Linked DNA regions of Homo sapiens: regions 1 and 3 are each linked to region 2. Evidence: promoter capture Hi-C in human tissues and cell types (Jung and others, 2019). All regions are on one chromosome and are shown on one strand. Each heading gives the region's core, a stretch centred on a gene start or on the middle of the fragment in contact. The rest is flanking DNA. Distances are from core to core; before and after follow the strand shown.

What was found. Contacts are between HindIII fragments. The study calls those that stand out against the background at their distance.
Region 1: a fragment that was not itself captured here is called in contact with the fragment with the promoter of PPM1D in region 2 in 1 of the 25 tissues and cell types used here (dorsolateral prefrontal cortex).
Region 3: a contact is called between a fragment that was not itself captured here and the fragment with the promoter of PPM1D in region 2, in 1 of the 25 tissues and cell types used here (IMR-90 fibroblasts).

What each region holds. Positions count from the first base shown.
Region 1 is chr17:60,227,745-60,232,142 of GRCh38, reverse strand. The region is part of intron 12 of USP32 (ubiquitin specific peptidase 32); the gene reads left to right. It also overlaps SCARNA20. Among named protein-coding and RNA genes, the nearest start is that of CA4, 80 kb to the right of the region's middle. The HindIII fragment of the contact is 6,309 bases long and covers 1-4,398 here.
Region 2 is chr17:60,597,783-60,602,632 of GRCh38, reverse strand. PPM1D (protein phosphatase, Mg2+/Mn2+ dependent 1D) reads right to left here and starts at 2,440. Exons shown (of 6, transcript NM_003620.4): 1 at 1,747-2,440. The coding sequence starts at 2,218. RefSeq lists enhancers at 2,321-2,370, 1,531-2,518, 2,519-3,507. The HindIII fragment of the contact is 15,450 bases long and covers 1-4,850 here.
Region 3 is chr17:60,187,826-60,192,470 of GRCh38, reverse strand. USP32 (ubiquitin specific peptidase 32) reads left to right here. Exons shown (of 34, transcript NM_032582.4): 29 at 1,788-1,908. Among named protein-coding and RNA genes, the nearest start is that of CA4, 40 kb to the right of the region's middle. The HindIII fragment of the contact is 9,453 bases long and covers 1-4,645 here.

The DNA.
Region 1 (4,398 bases), core at 266-2,765, 370 kb after region 2:
CAGATAATTTGATCTTAGAGCTTCATCTGCCTACCTAAGAGAGTACTTAGCTTTAATTTTTTCTCTTCATAAAATGACATATTTACTTACGAATATTACTAATTGTGAGGGTAGTATGTTTCAAATACTGGCAAGACTAAATGGAAAGATCAGAGACCAAGGGATCAGGAAAAATGAGCCATCCTTTCTTAGAAGTGGCTAACCCCAGATTTGCTGATTCACTGGAGCATGAATAATTTGATTGTGTCTCTGCTCATGGAATCTTACCAGTCTTTCCCCGCTTTAATGTGTCAAGCTTTATTCTTCTATGTGTAATCTCCTAAAAAAATGTAAATGGGGAAGAATGGTGAAATCTTTTCTATCATTATTACATTACATAATGTGTATCTTCCTTTTTGAGAACTATGAAGGAGCAGCTATTACTATTCACATGCAGATTTTCCTATTTAGTTATCACGTAACTTTAGAGCTAGAAGATACTTTAAATCACCTTTCGTGCCTCTCTCCCATGGGCTTTGGGGGGTCCCTGTTCTCCTTAGCCAAGGCTGGAGGCCAAGAGCAGCCCTCGAGGATCGTCGTCAGGACTGCCACGAGTGGGGCAGCCTTGTTTTCCTGCCTCAGACATGTGTAGTTGAGTGGGAAATAAAAGGAATGAAACACCTCTCTTCTCTGAATTTACAAATGAAGCCTCTGAGGTCCTTAGGTTTTATAATTGCCCAAAGCTGTATCAGACAATTATTTTATTACTTTATCTAGCACTCTAGAGCTCAGTGTCCTGAGTCCTGCCTTAGTACCTAATCTGTTGCTCCATGCTGCCCTCTATTTTTCCAAAGCTAGCATTTCAGTCACTAGTGAAATATGAAATTGACATAACTGTTAATTGATTCTTGTAACATACCTATGTACAGGGCATAAAAAGTAGTAGTATCATCAATAGAGAAAAAGGTGAATCTTGACCCATATTTTAGAACACATAAACTATTTATACAACTCACAGGGAATCCTAAAATCTCAAAATAAAATTCTCTTATATTAAAATAAGTACCTAGTCCTTTTGTGAATTGTTGACTCAGAAAATGAGGACATTTCTCTCTACAGGTGAAACTTTACCTATTTAGAAATCTATCTTCTGAAAACCAGGGTTCTAGGATAATTTTGAATAGTTCCAGACCCCTGAAGTCAATAAAAACAAAACATGATCCTTTGATGTTTTAGAAAAACAAAAATTTCCGCAAGCAGCCAGAAATGAACAGTCAAAAAAAGCTAGTGACTCTAAGATTCTGCAATATATAACTGTGATTGGTTTGTTCATCTTATAGAAGGAAAGTGGTAATAAGATTAATCGGATGAAAAGGTAGCTATTTCACTGAAAGCCAAGAAGGGTAGAAGGAACAAGAAAAATAAGCGTGTAGGAAGGGGAAGAAGGAACCTGAGTTGTGCTGACAGTTTCAGGCAGTGGAGAACAGTGAGAGCATCAGGTTCCTGTAATAGAAAAGAAAGCCGAAGACAATGAGAAGACAGACCAGTCTAGTTTGTTTGGAGCATTGGAAGAGAAGCAAAGAAAAGCCCATATTCTCCAAGTCTAAAGGTTATTACTCACTGTACCATGTTAAAAGCATGTGGTAGAACCGCAGTTGCTAGAGGCAAATGTTGCAATCTCTGAGAAGTTATTAGAATCATCCTGTTCACAAATTATTATAAAATTTAGCCTAGCAAATTTAATGCCTGGTAATATTTTTATTATCCTGTTTTCTTGCCAGTGATATATATAGATTTAACCTATGGACTGAGCTCTTCAGAATGAGAAGCATTATTACAGGAATGGTTTCATTTACATTTTCTTTAGAAACATAGGCACCATGTAAGACTTTCAAACATGTTAAAACATTTAAGATACAATTCCAAATATTACTCCTTGAAATTCTCTTACATGCCCATCTTAGAGGAAAACTTGAAGAAAATTGTTTGCTCAAATAGACCCAATCTTCCTCAAAATATATTACTACAAATTTTTTAGAAAGTAATTTGTGGTCGGGCGCAGTGACTCACGCCTGTAACCCCAGCACTTTGGGAGGCCAAGGCAGGTGGATCACCTGAGGTCAGGGGTTCAAGACCAGCCTGGCCAACGTGGCGAAACCCTGTCTCCACCAGAAATACAAAAATTAGCCAGGCGCAGTGGTGCGTGCCTGTAATCCCAGCTACTCCGGAGGCTGAGGCAGGAGAATTGCTTGAACCCAGGAGGCAGAGGTTGCAGTGACCCAACATTGCACCACTGCACTCCAGCCTGGGCAACAAAGCGAGACTCTGTCTCAAAAAAAGAAGGAAAAAAAAAGTAATTTGTAATGCATCAACTTTATATAAATGGAATATAGAAGTGAGTATAAATTTATAAACGGATTACCTTGCCAAAAATGTGATGGTTATTGAAACATCATTTAAGATCACTTATAGCAAAACTAAAGTGATTTTTCTGGAGGAAAACAAAGTGACTTGGAAGACTTTAATTTTTCTCAAAGGTGGCGCTGTTACTCTTTCAAAATGGTTTTGCTGTCTGTCTTGCTCCATCTTTATGGGCAGGAAGCAAATGACCTGAAAACTAAATAAATCTAAATCTTCTTCTAAAACACAAGTTCCAGAGCAGGTAGCAGATTTAATAACAAGTCAATTTCTAAGCTCTTAACATCTGGAGCACATTATAAAAACAAATGCATGAGACTATAATCCTCACTAGGGCAATAGTTATTAATTCTGGCTGCATATGTAGTGAGATCACATAGAGAACTTTAAAAATGAAAAAATGCCTTTGGCCGGGTGACTCATGCCTGTAATCCTAGTACTTTGGGAGGCCAAGGCAGGAGGATTGTTTGGATCCTCCAGGAGTTTGAGACCAGTCTGGGTAACATATTGAGACCCCATCTCTATGAAAACTTTAAAAATTAGTTGGGCATGGTGATGCATGCCTGTGGTCCTAGCTGAGGTGGAAGGATCACTTGAGCTCAGGAGTTCAAGGGTATAGTGAGCTATAGGCGACTGAGCAAGACCCTGTATTAAAAAAAGAGCCTTTGCTATACTCCAGACTAAAAAAATCAAAAAGCATAAGTGAAAAAAAAAAGTTGAATTGATTTAAATAATAAGGCATTTATGTTTATGGAAAATTTTCTTTTGAAACCTAATTTAACCAGGTGAGGTGGCTCACACCTGTAATCCCACCACTTTGGGTGACTGAGGCAGGAGGATTACCTGAGGCTAGAGTTTGAGACCAGCCTGGGCAATACAGTAAGACTCCATTTCTACCAAAAAAAAAAACAAAAACAAAAAAAACAAAGAGTCTCGCTCTGTTGCTCTGGCTGGAGTGCAGTGGCATGATCTCAACTCACTTCAACCTCCACCCCCTGGGTTGAGGCCATCCTCCCACCTCAGCCTCTCAAGTTACTGGGGACTAAAGGTGCACACCACCATGCCCCACTATTTTTTTTTAATATTTTTTTGTAAAGACGGGATCTATCCACGTTGCTCGGGCTGGTCTCCAACTCTCCTGAGCTCAAGTGATCCAGCCACCTTGGCTCCCAAAGTGCAGGGATTACAGACATGAGCCACCATCCCTGGCCAAAACTTGTTTTAATTAAAAAAAAAAAAAAAAAGAAAAAGAAAAAAGAAACCTAATTTAAATGTCATGTATTTTGTGTTGGTATGAATTCCATATTAGAAAAGCTGTGAGAAGCTTGATATTATCTTTAAGAAAATTAACACTTAGGACTAATTTATACTTCTTTTTTGACATAGATCATTTTGGTTCTACTGTCTTGTCTACAGGATTTTGGTTTCTAGGCCAGGCACAGTGGGTCACGCCTGTAATCCCAGCACACTGGGAGGCCAAGGCAGGTGGATCACTTGTGTTCAGGAGTTTGAGGCCAGCATGGTGAAACCCTGTCTCTATTAAAAATACATAAATTAGCTGTGTGTGGTGGCAGGTGCCTGTAGTTCCAGCTACTCAGGAGGCTGAGGCAGGAGAATCATTTGAAGCTAGAGGCGGAGGTTGCTGTGAGCCGAGACTGCACCACTGACCTCCAGCCTGGGCGACAGAGCTTGACTCTGTCTCAAAAAAAAAAAAAGAATTTTGACTACTTTGGTGAACCATCTAAATTTTAAAAATTGATGGTCCAAAATTCATATGTAATATAGATTCCTACTTCTTAATCATTTTTTTAAACTATGGTCACCATTTTTCTCATGTAATGCCATACAGTTAACTTACATAAATAATTATGCCATTTTTACTTAAAATTTAAAAAAATTTTTTGGCTACTAAAGTGAAGCAGTGGTAACAGACAAGGAACAAAGAAATTTATAACTGTTTGTGATTAATTAGTTATTTAATCATATTTTCAAAGGAAACTT
Region 2 (4,850 bases), core at 1,191-3,690:
TTTACATTTAACAGCATGGCCCCTGCTTTATTAAAAAATGTTCCTGAAGGTCCGGCAGGGTAGCTCACGCCTGTAATTCCAGCACTTTCGGAGGCCGAGGAGGAAGGATCGCTTGAGCCCAGGATCGCTTGTTGCCCAGCCTGGGCAACAAAGTAAGGCGGCCCACACCCGTCCCCCGCCCCTGCCCGTCTCTTAAAAAAAAAAAAATTTAATACTAATGTAACGGAGTTTATACCTTAAAGATTTTTTATCCTTAAAGTTCAAACATATGGCAAATTCATGTTACTCCAAGTATACTGCAAAATAAACAGCACTCTAAATAGTTCTGTGCCTAGTCTTCCTCTCTTGTGCTGCTGTCGACTTCTCGTTGCCCTGCAGTCAATGATATCACATATTTCTACAATACACTACAGTGCTTTCAGCTCTACGGTGCCTACACAAAAACAAAATAAATCCATAAAGAGGGGCCCCTGGGATGGATGGGAAACGCCTCCAACAAGCCTAGTGGCTGGTTTTTGAGTCAATCAACTAACTCTTGGCAGAAAGCCAAGCAAATGGAAAACAGACTTTGAAACCGGCTAATCTACAACTCTATGACAATACCTTTCTAAAAATGTTCTGTATTTGCTAAATCTAACTCTTTTCTCTATGTCTCTATCCCTCTGCTGAAAATAAAGCAACGTTATTATGCTGCCATAAACAAGGTTTTTTCCCACCACTGGAAGTATTGTCTTCTTTGCTCTAACAAAGATGCATGCCATTTATTCACTGCAATAGATAAGCAATTATAATGCTGTAAGATGATTCTGTAAATGTTGGGCACAGAAATCCTGCCTGCTTTACAAACATTTAAAAAAACTTAGATGAAACTACAACTACACCGAAATTTTTAGACATTTAAGACCTTTATTTCCTTCTAGCATACAGTAATTCCTTGCCTTTTCTTATTTTGATGGGCAGTTACAATTTATAAGTACTTTTTAAACTAGGAACAACCGGTTGGGAACTATCTGAAAGCAATCAGCTAAGGCAATTTCCAAAAAGAAAACCCAAGCAGAATCTAACGCACACCCTTAACACGGGGCCAGTTTTTAAGAGGTAACAACACGTTCCGCGTTTTTAGTTTTCATAAGCAGTACAGGTTTATGATCCTAAAAACATCTCACCATCATTACAACGGAATTCCTTCCAAAACTTTAAGTTGCCGGATGGTTACGTTTCAGCCCTTCTAAATTAGCTTACGCTTTACTCCAGCAACCAACCCCAGCAATCCCGGGTCAATCTGGAGAACTGACACCACCGGTAGGAGGCAACCGAGAGGGATAAGACTTTCAGGAGCAGAATTATGACAGATTCTCTAAGGAAACACTACAGTTTTTCCTTCGCCTGGCCCAGGTGCAACATCGATTTATCTTTTGGCCAAAATCTGGCGCCAGGTTTCAAACACGTTTCCTCTGGTTGCCACCAAAGTGAAGCAGGGAAGGGAGTGGACTGCTTCCCATTGATCCTTGGAGGATGGAAATAAAGCAAGAATAGGCTGCAGGGAGACGGCAATCCTATCTTCCCCAAGGCCGCTTGGTTTGCCCGGACCTCCACCCAGCAAAGCGCTATTACAGCTTTTAGTCACTTCCATCAGTGTATACTTTGGTTGCGCTCTGGGTGCCGGGGGCCCACGCGGGGCTGGTGCCATAAAAGCCCTGAACTGCCTGAAAAAGGGGCGGGCGCCAAACAAGCCAGGGAACTTACCCAGTTTCTTCCACATGGCAAGGTGACAAGCGAGAAAGCCTTTGCGGATGGCAGCGCAAACCTTAGCCGGCTCGGACGAGGTGAAACCCTTCTGCTTCTTGATGAAACCCCACAAGTGCTCCCGGGCAAACTGTGCCGCCTCCCGCCCGCCGTGCCCGTCGCACACGGCGAAAAAGGCCACGGAGGAACGGCGGCGGCAGCAGCGGCTAGGTGCCGGCGAGGCCCCGGCGTCCGGGAGAGGGTCGCGAGCCTCTCGGGCTGCCACCGCTGGGCCTTTCCCCGAGACTTCGCCGCCGGGAAGGGCGGCCGGCGACGGCCGCGGAGGCAACGGCTGAGACAGCGACCGCCGCGGCGAGGGCTTTTCTTCAGCCGTCGGTTCGGGCTCCACAACGATTTGAGTAACGTCCTCCATGTACTTCCTCCCGCCCTGGTCGGAGAAGACGCTCACTCCCAGCGAGTACAGCCCCGCCATGGCCGGCTGGCCGGGATCCCGCCGGTCCCACGCAGCCCGCCGAATCCGGCGGCGGGAGACACACTAGGCGCTCGCCGGCCAACTATTGTTTATCTTCGACGACGCCGAGAAGGGGGAGGGGGCGGACCCGGAGAAGGGGGGGCGCGCGATGTCTGGACTTGTCCGCGAGAGCTGGGCCGGAGCGCCGGAGCGAGCAGAGCCAGGCAGTTGCGCCTGCGCACTGCGCTTCCCCCCACCGCCCGCGCCCACCACACAAATCAGGCGTTCTCCCCCGCTGACGTCACTCGGCTCTCTAAGCTCGACCAATCCGGAGTCGAGTGGAGCGAGCCCGCCCTCCGTCCCCGCCTTCGCTCCCGCCTGCGACGGCCGCGCTGCCTCCTCCCGCCGCTGGCGCTGGGCCCGCGCATCTCCTAGTTTGCTTCCCCTACGCCGCGGGCGTTTTCGCCCTCCGGGTTGTCGGCAGTTGTTGATCCTTTCCCGAGCGGCTTGGTCTGTGTAGGCTTTTGGCTCAGTCCAGCGTTCTTAATGCGGCCTGCTGGCCTTGGCGTCCCGCTGCTTGCTTTGCTAGGAAGGTGGTGTGGGCTCGGGCCCCCAGCGAGTGGAGAATGAAGGGAGAAGAGTTCACCCTCCTCCTAAGCGAAATGGCGGGAAACCTCCCTTCCAAAGGGCGATTGTGAGCTGGCCGGAACAAGTGCTGCACCCTTGAGCTGGATCTGGGTGGGACGTATTCGACTGGGAATGGAGGAGGGAGGGAGTCCAGTTCTGTTGTTTAAAAAGCACTTAGGAAATTTCCACCGTCAGCTGCACAGTCTCGGTTCACATAACTAGGTATGTCAGAGACGTAAGAGGGCTGTATTCTAACGAATTCCTAGGCAGATCTTTTCAGCTTTTGTTAAAGGTAGTGCTCGTTCCGACCAGCTCTGGATACAGCATTTTATTCCTGCGGTATCACTTCAAGTTATCACTTGAAAATAACTGACAAACACTGCCAAGAGCCCCAGTGCTCTAACGGTTTGGTGATCGTCCCCTCTCTTCACCGAGTCGGTCACAATCCCAACGCTAAAACCTTTGCACGGATTTTCATGGAGTTAAGCCGCAGAGCGAGGAATACACTAGTATTTGCTCAGTAGCATACGTTTTGTAGTTGAATCACTTTAAAGTTCACTTTTCCCGTTTTTGGCCATTTCTTCATCAATCTGTACTTTCCTGTAAAACCTTTGAGATTTTCAAATGGCCTAAAAACAGTATGGAAACGGGAATGGGGGGAATGTACATACAGTTGGCACAAGAAATAAAAATAGAAAAAATCTTTATATCAATAAAAATATAAATAAGCAAAATCAGCTCAAGAAAATGTAGAAAATCTGAATAGATCAACTAAGTAAAAATAAATACAATTGAAGATATTCATTACCCCAAAAAGCACTAGACCAGATGGTTCCAGGGCATGGAAACGCTTGAAAAAAAAAATCCCAGCTTGTTTGGAGAGGTAATCATAACCCTGTTAGTAAAACCTAAGCATTATGAACACTAAAAGGAAACCTACAGACCCTGTTTTGTAACGATGAATACAAAAATCCTAAATGAAATATTAGCATTGTAATTAGGGAGCAGCCTCCATATCACAAGAACGGTTTGTGTAGCTCTATATTATTCATCTTACCGTTCACCACGTTTGACCCAAGAGATTACCAAAAGATAATTCCATCATGCTTTATAATCCTTTCCACCTCAATCACAACCAGTAGGATCTGCGTCATCCGTTTATTGCTCTAGTATCTCCATGCTACTCTCTGCTTCAATTACTCTGATTCCATATCCCACTCTTCACCAAATATCCTAACCATTTCACTTCACACTTTTGATTTCAACATCTGCCATCAACCACTTCCCCTTTATTCTTAGCCTCTTCTGTAAATGTTCCCATCAACTTCCCATTCCAACTGAAACCCGGTTTATCACTTAGCAAAACTACCTCCCTTGCAACTTTTCAAGTACAGGAGGTTATTTTTCCTCTCATAGGTATTCTTATCTGTGGCCTATTCCTCATATTACCTCCAAACCACTTCTCTTCCTTCCTCCCTCAGAAACTCAAGTGCTTTTAAAATTTATGCAGACTGCTGCTACTCTGAGATGCTGTCAGCTACTGATCCCTGGTATCTCCCCATCATTTTTCATAGCCCACCGTCTTTGTTTCTTCCACTATTCGTGTCACTTCTCATCCACTTTATTTTTCAAGATACTATCCATATCTTCCATACTGTCTCCTTTTCAAGAGTTTTACTGCTCCAACAATTATCCTCCTTGCTCCTGCCTCATCAATCTCTCCTTTCTCTCTGTCTTTCTAAATGTTAAAGACGGGGTCTATGATGCCCAGGCTGGGGTGCAGTGATTATTCACAGGCGCAATTATAGCTCACTGCAGCCTCAAACTCCTGACCTCAAGTGATCCTCCAACTTTAGCCCCCAAGTAGCTGAGATTAAGGCACATGTCACCACACCCAGACTAATTTCTCCTCTTCTGGGTCATTTCCATTTGTGTATAAATATGTTCTGTTTTTTTTCTTTTTTTTGAGACAGAGTCTCCCTCCATCACCCAGGCTGGAGTGCAGTGACGTGATCTCGGCTCACTA
Region 3 (4,645 bases), core at 2,055-4,554, 410 kb after region 2:
AGAGCGAAACTCCGTCTCAAAAAATATTTTTCACTTCCTTTTGAGGTCAATAGATAAGTTTTGCTTTTGAGATTTAGCTGGTTTTATAAACTACAGTCCATACCAAATTCATAGCTTGTGATAAACATTTATTACTCTATAACTTCACCTCTCCTTTTTTGTGTTGTTTTGTTTTGTTTTGAGATGGAGTCTCGCTCTGTCACCCAGGCTGGGGTGCAGTGGCTCAATCTCAGCTCACTGCAACCTCTGCCTCCCAGGTTCAAGCAATTCTCCTGCCTCAGCCTCCCGAGTAGCCGGGACTACAGGTGCACACCACTGTACCCAGCTAATTTTTGTATTTTTAGTAGAAATGGGGTTTTGCCATGTTAGGCTGGTCTCAAACTCCTGACCTCAGGTGATCCACCCACCTCAGCCTCCCAAAGTGCTGGGATTATAGGTGTGAGCCACCACGCCAAGCCTCTCGTTAAATATAAGTTTGCCAGTTCTAAGCACAGTAGACCATAGTCTTTACTAGACCTTGCTGGAAATCTGTTCTTGGTTTTTAAAGAGTTACGGAGATTGATTGGTCATTGCTGTTACAACAGGGAAAGTGCCTAATGATACTAAAGTCCGCCTTTAGAGAACTGCAATAGACTTAGCAAACTGAGTCTAAAGTAGGCATTGGCCAGGCGTGGTGGCTCACGCGTGTAATCCCAGCACTTTGGGAGGTGGAGGCGGGCAGATCAAGAGGTCAGGAGATTGAGACCATCCTAGCTAACACGGTGAAACCCCATCTCTACTAAAAATACAAAAAATTAGCCAGGCATGGTGGCGGGCACCTGTAGTCCCAGCTACTTGGAAGGCTGAGGCTGGAGAATTGCTTGAACCCGGGAGGCGGAGCTTGCAGTGAGCTCAGATCGCACCACTGCACTCCAGCCTGGGCGACAGAGCAAGGCTCCATCTCAAGAAAAATAATAATAATAATAAAGTAGGCATTGGAACCATGACTTTATTATATCCTCCCCCCTACCCCATCTCCCACCCCACCTCTGCAACTCTATAAACTTTTTTTTTTTTTTTTTTTTTTTTTTAAACAGAGTCTCACTCTGTCACCCAGGCTGCAGTGCAGTGGTGCAACCTCGGCTCACTGCAACCTCCACCTCCCAGGTTCAAGCAATTCTCCCACCTCAGCCTCCCAAGTAGCTGGGATTATAGGTGCCTGCCACCATGCCTGGCTAATTTTTGTAGTTTTAGTAGAGACAGGGTTTCACCATGTTGGTCAGACTGGTCTCGACCTCCTGACCTCAGGTGATCCACCCACCTCGGCCTCCCAAAGTGCTGGGATTACAGGCATGAGCCACCATGCCCGGCCCCTGTAAACTTTTATATGCATTTATTTAATCTGCCATTTTACAGACAAGGAGCTAGGTGTTACACCAGATAAATTGTCCTACCTCAGAGCATTCAATAACTGAATTTGGAATTTCTTGAGTGCTGTAGTATCTCAAACAGGCAATTCCCATGTCATTTATTTGCCATAAAGTTCACATCTTCCTGTGATTAACAGGTGGTTATCAAGTACTTTGTAAAAATAAAGACTTGAAAAATGAAAAGCATGATTCCCTGAAACTGTACTAATTATTAATAAGTATCCCTACATTTATCAGAGTCTGAAGTTAGAAGCCCATGACAAATTGTGAGGCCCAAGAGGAAAGCAGAAAAGTAGGAAGGGAGAATATTTTTTATTAAGAAAATTTAGATTCCTTCATAATTATTTCTTCCTCTGTGGATCTTTTCCCCCTTTTTAGATTTTGCAGAGGCTGTAAAATTGATTGTGGGGAAGACAGAGCTTTCATTGGAAATGCCTATATCGCTGTGGATTGGGATCCCACAGCCCTTCACCTTCGCTATCAAACATCCCAGGAAAGGGTAAGTATTTAGGGCCACCATAAAATGGTGGTTTTTATATGAGAAATTTCCACCAGTGTAACTATTATGCCATTTCTGTTTTAGACAATTTAAAAACAACCAGAAAAACCTTCATTGGCATCCTCTATGGCACCTAATATATTGACATGTTTGCTTGAGCTTTTTCATTTTCCAACTTCTGGAGTTCATTGTATTGGGGCATTGTCTTTGTCCATTTTGTGTTGCTATAACAGAGTACGTGAGGCTGGTAACTTGTAAAGAAAAGAGGTTTATTTAGCTTACTGTTCGGCAGCCTGGGAAGTTCAAGGACATGGTCCTGGCTTCTGGCAAAGGCTTCTGTGCTGCATCATAACATGGCAGAGAAGATCAAAGGAGAACAGACACAGGCAAGAGGGAGGACCAAACAGGAGGAAGATCCTCGCTTTCTAACAGCCCGCTCTCTTGGAAACTAAGTTCTCAGAAGGAGAACTCAACTACTGCAAGAATGGCACCAACCATTTACAAGAGTTTCACCCCTATGACCCAAACACCTCCTGCTAGGCCCCACCTCCTAACAACGCCACATTGGGAATCAGATTTCAACATGCATTTTGATGGAGACAAATAAACCATGTCCAAACTATAGCAGGCATTAAATTTCAAAAATATTAATAAGTGAACCTTGAAACAAAACTGTGTCTGGCCATGACATATCAATAAGCATCTCTCTGTTAAATATTATTGAAGTTGCAGCATTTGGTAACCACAGTTACTTAGTTCAAATGTGTCCCAGGGCTATAGCTGCTGCCTTTAATAGGCAGAGTGATCAGAAAAGTTACAGAAAGGATTGAAATGTTTCCATTTTGGGTACCTAAGAGCACATCTCAGTGGCCACTCTTTGCACTTCACATTCTTCTATTGTCACTGTCTGGCCAGAGCAATTTTTAAATTTTGAAAATGTTGCTTCAGAAATAATTTTAACTCCATACCTAAAAATGTTTGCCTCAGGCAGTTTTTAATCAACCAAATATTATTTGAATGGTAAAGACATTAAGAATCTGATAGAGAGGTAAAAACAACAGAGTCAAAGGAGTTCCTTAAGTCACATGAGGAATTGTAGTGGTTTTTGCATTTTTATGGCTCTTGATAGTTGGAAATTTCCTTTACTATTTTTTAAAGCATTCCCTTTGGATAAGTTAGTAACGGTAACTGACTTTTCTGTCTTGTTGTGCTATGGAGGACTGGGGAAACTACCAATTCTAGACCTAGTTTCTTATTTAGATCCCAAAATATGCCGCACACACCAAGGCTCCTGGGAGCCCTTTCTAGCCAGAAATAAGTATAATTTGTGGATACTTGTCAAATGAAAGATCACTAGGCTAAAGCTAAAGAAAGCTGAAGAGAAACTAATGTTCTAGATCATGCTCACTAGCAAGGAGGGAAAATTTTACTAGTTGATAGATTCATAAATCTTTGTCAGCACAAAATCTGACAAGACATTACTGTCAATGATGACAAATTATTTGGCTCTATAAATCTCTTCCCCTTTTTAACAAATCCAGTGTGCAATCGGAAAAGCTCTTTAGGACATCCTGCTTATAGGAAACGGCCTACGTGACCTGTTAAATCTCACCCTACTTCCACTTTCAGTGATGCACTTAGGATACCATGGAAGTGAAGGGCTATTGATGCCTTGCTAGGGAGTGGGCCCATATGACTAATCTGGGCTCCCCTACATGTAGGGTTTCTGAATGTGCTTAGAAAGTCATGTAGACAAAAGAGATACCGTGGTTTAAATTGGGATTATTGCCCATATACTTTATATTTTTTATTCCAGTGATTTCCCTTTTAGGAATTTATCTGAGGGGAGAATACTCTGTAATTACTCCATAATTTGCAGGCAAATATCATCATAGCATTTTTTAGAATAGCAAAAAGTTATTAACAACTTATATTTGTCTCACATTAGAGGAATGGTTAAATAAAGCATGGTGTATTCATTGGATAAAATATAATGCGGTTGTTGAAAATGATTACCAGGAGTTTTTGCTAACATTTATGGGAACAAGCTTATGATATGTGAACATTTTTTAAAAAACAAGACATAAAGTTGCATATACTGGAAATAATACCTTCAATATTGAAAAAAATACTATTTAGGAAAGAGGACAGAAGAAAATCTGCCAATATTTTGACAGTGGTTGCCTTTGTATTAAGAATATAATTAAGAATATAAAAGGATTCCCTGCCTTTTAACATTTTTCTCTGCTTTCCAACATGAATATTATACCTAGTAATCAGAAAAAAAACAGAGGCAATCACTCTTATCCTTTACATTTCTCTCCTGTTGGGACCTCAGATTCCTCAGTAGAAAATTAAACTGGATGCCAGCCTGGGCAATATGATGTCACCCTGTCTTTACAAAAAATGCACAGATTAGCCAGGTGTGGTGGTGTGCACCTGTAGTCCCAGCTACTTGGGAGGCTGAGGTTGGAGGGCTGCTTGAACCCAAGAGATCAAGGCTGCAGTGAGCTGTGATCTCGCCAGTGCACTCCAGCCTGGGTAACAGAGCAAGAACCTGTCTCAAAAAAACAAAAAAAGAAAGAAAAAAAGAAAATTAAGCTAGACAAATTCTTAGGCCACTCTCTTTTTTTCAATAGTCTTCTATGAAAACTATTACTTCATTTCCTGTGTTTTGTGTTAAAGATGAGCTTTAAAGTAACTTTGAAAAAGAAGAGGGTGCCTATAAGTAATTTAT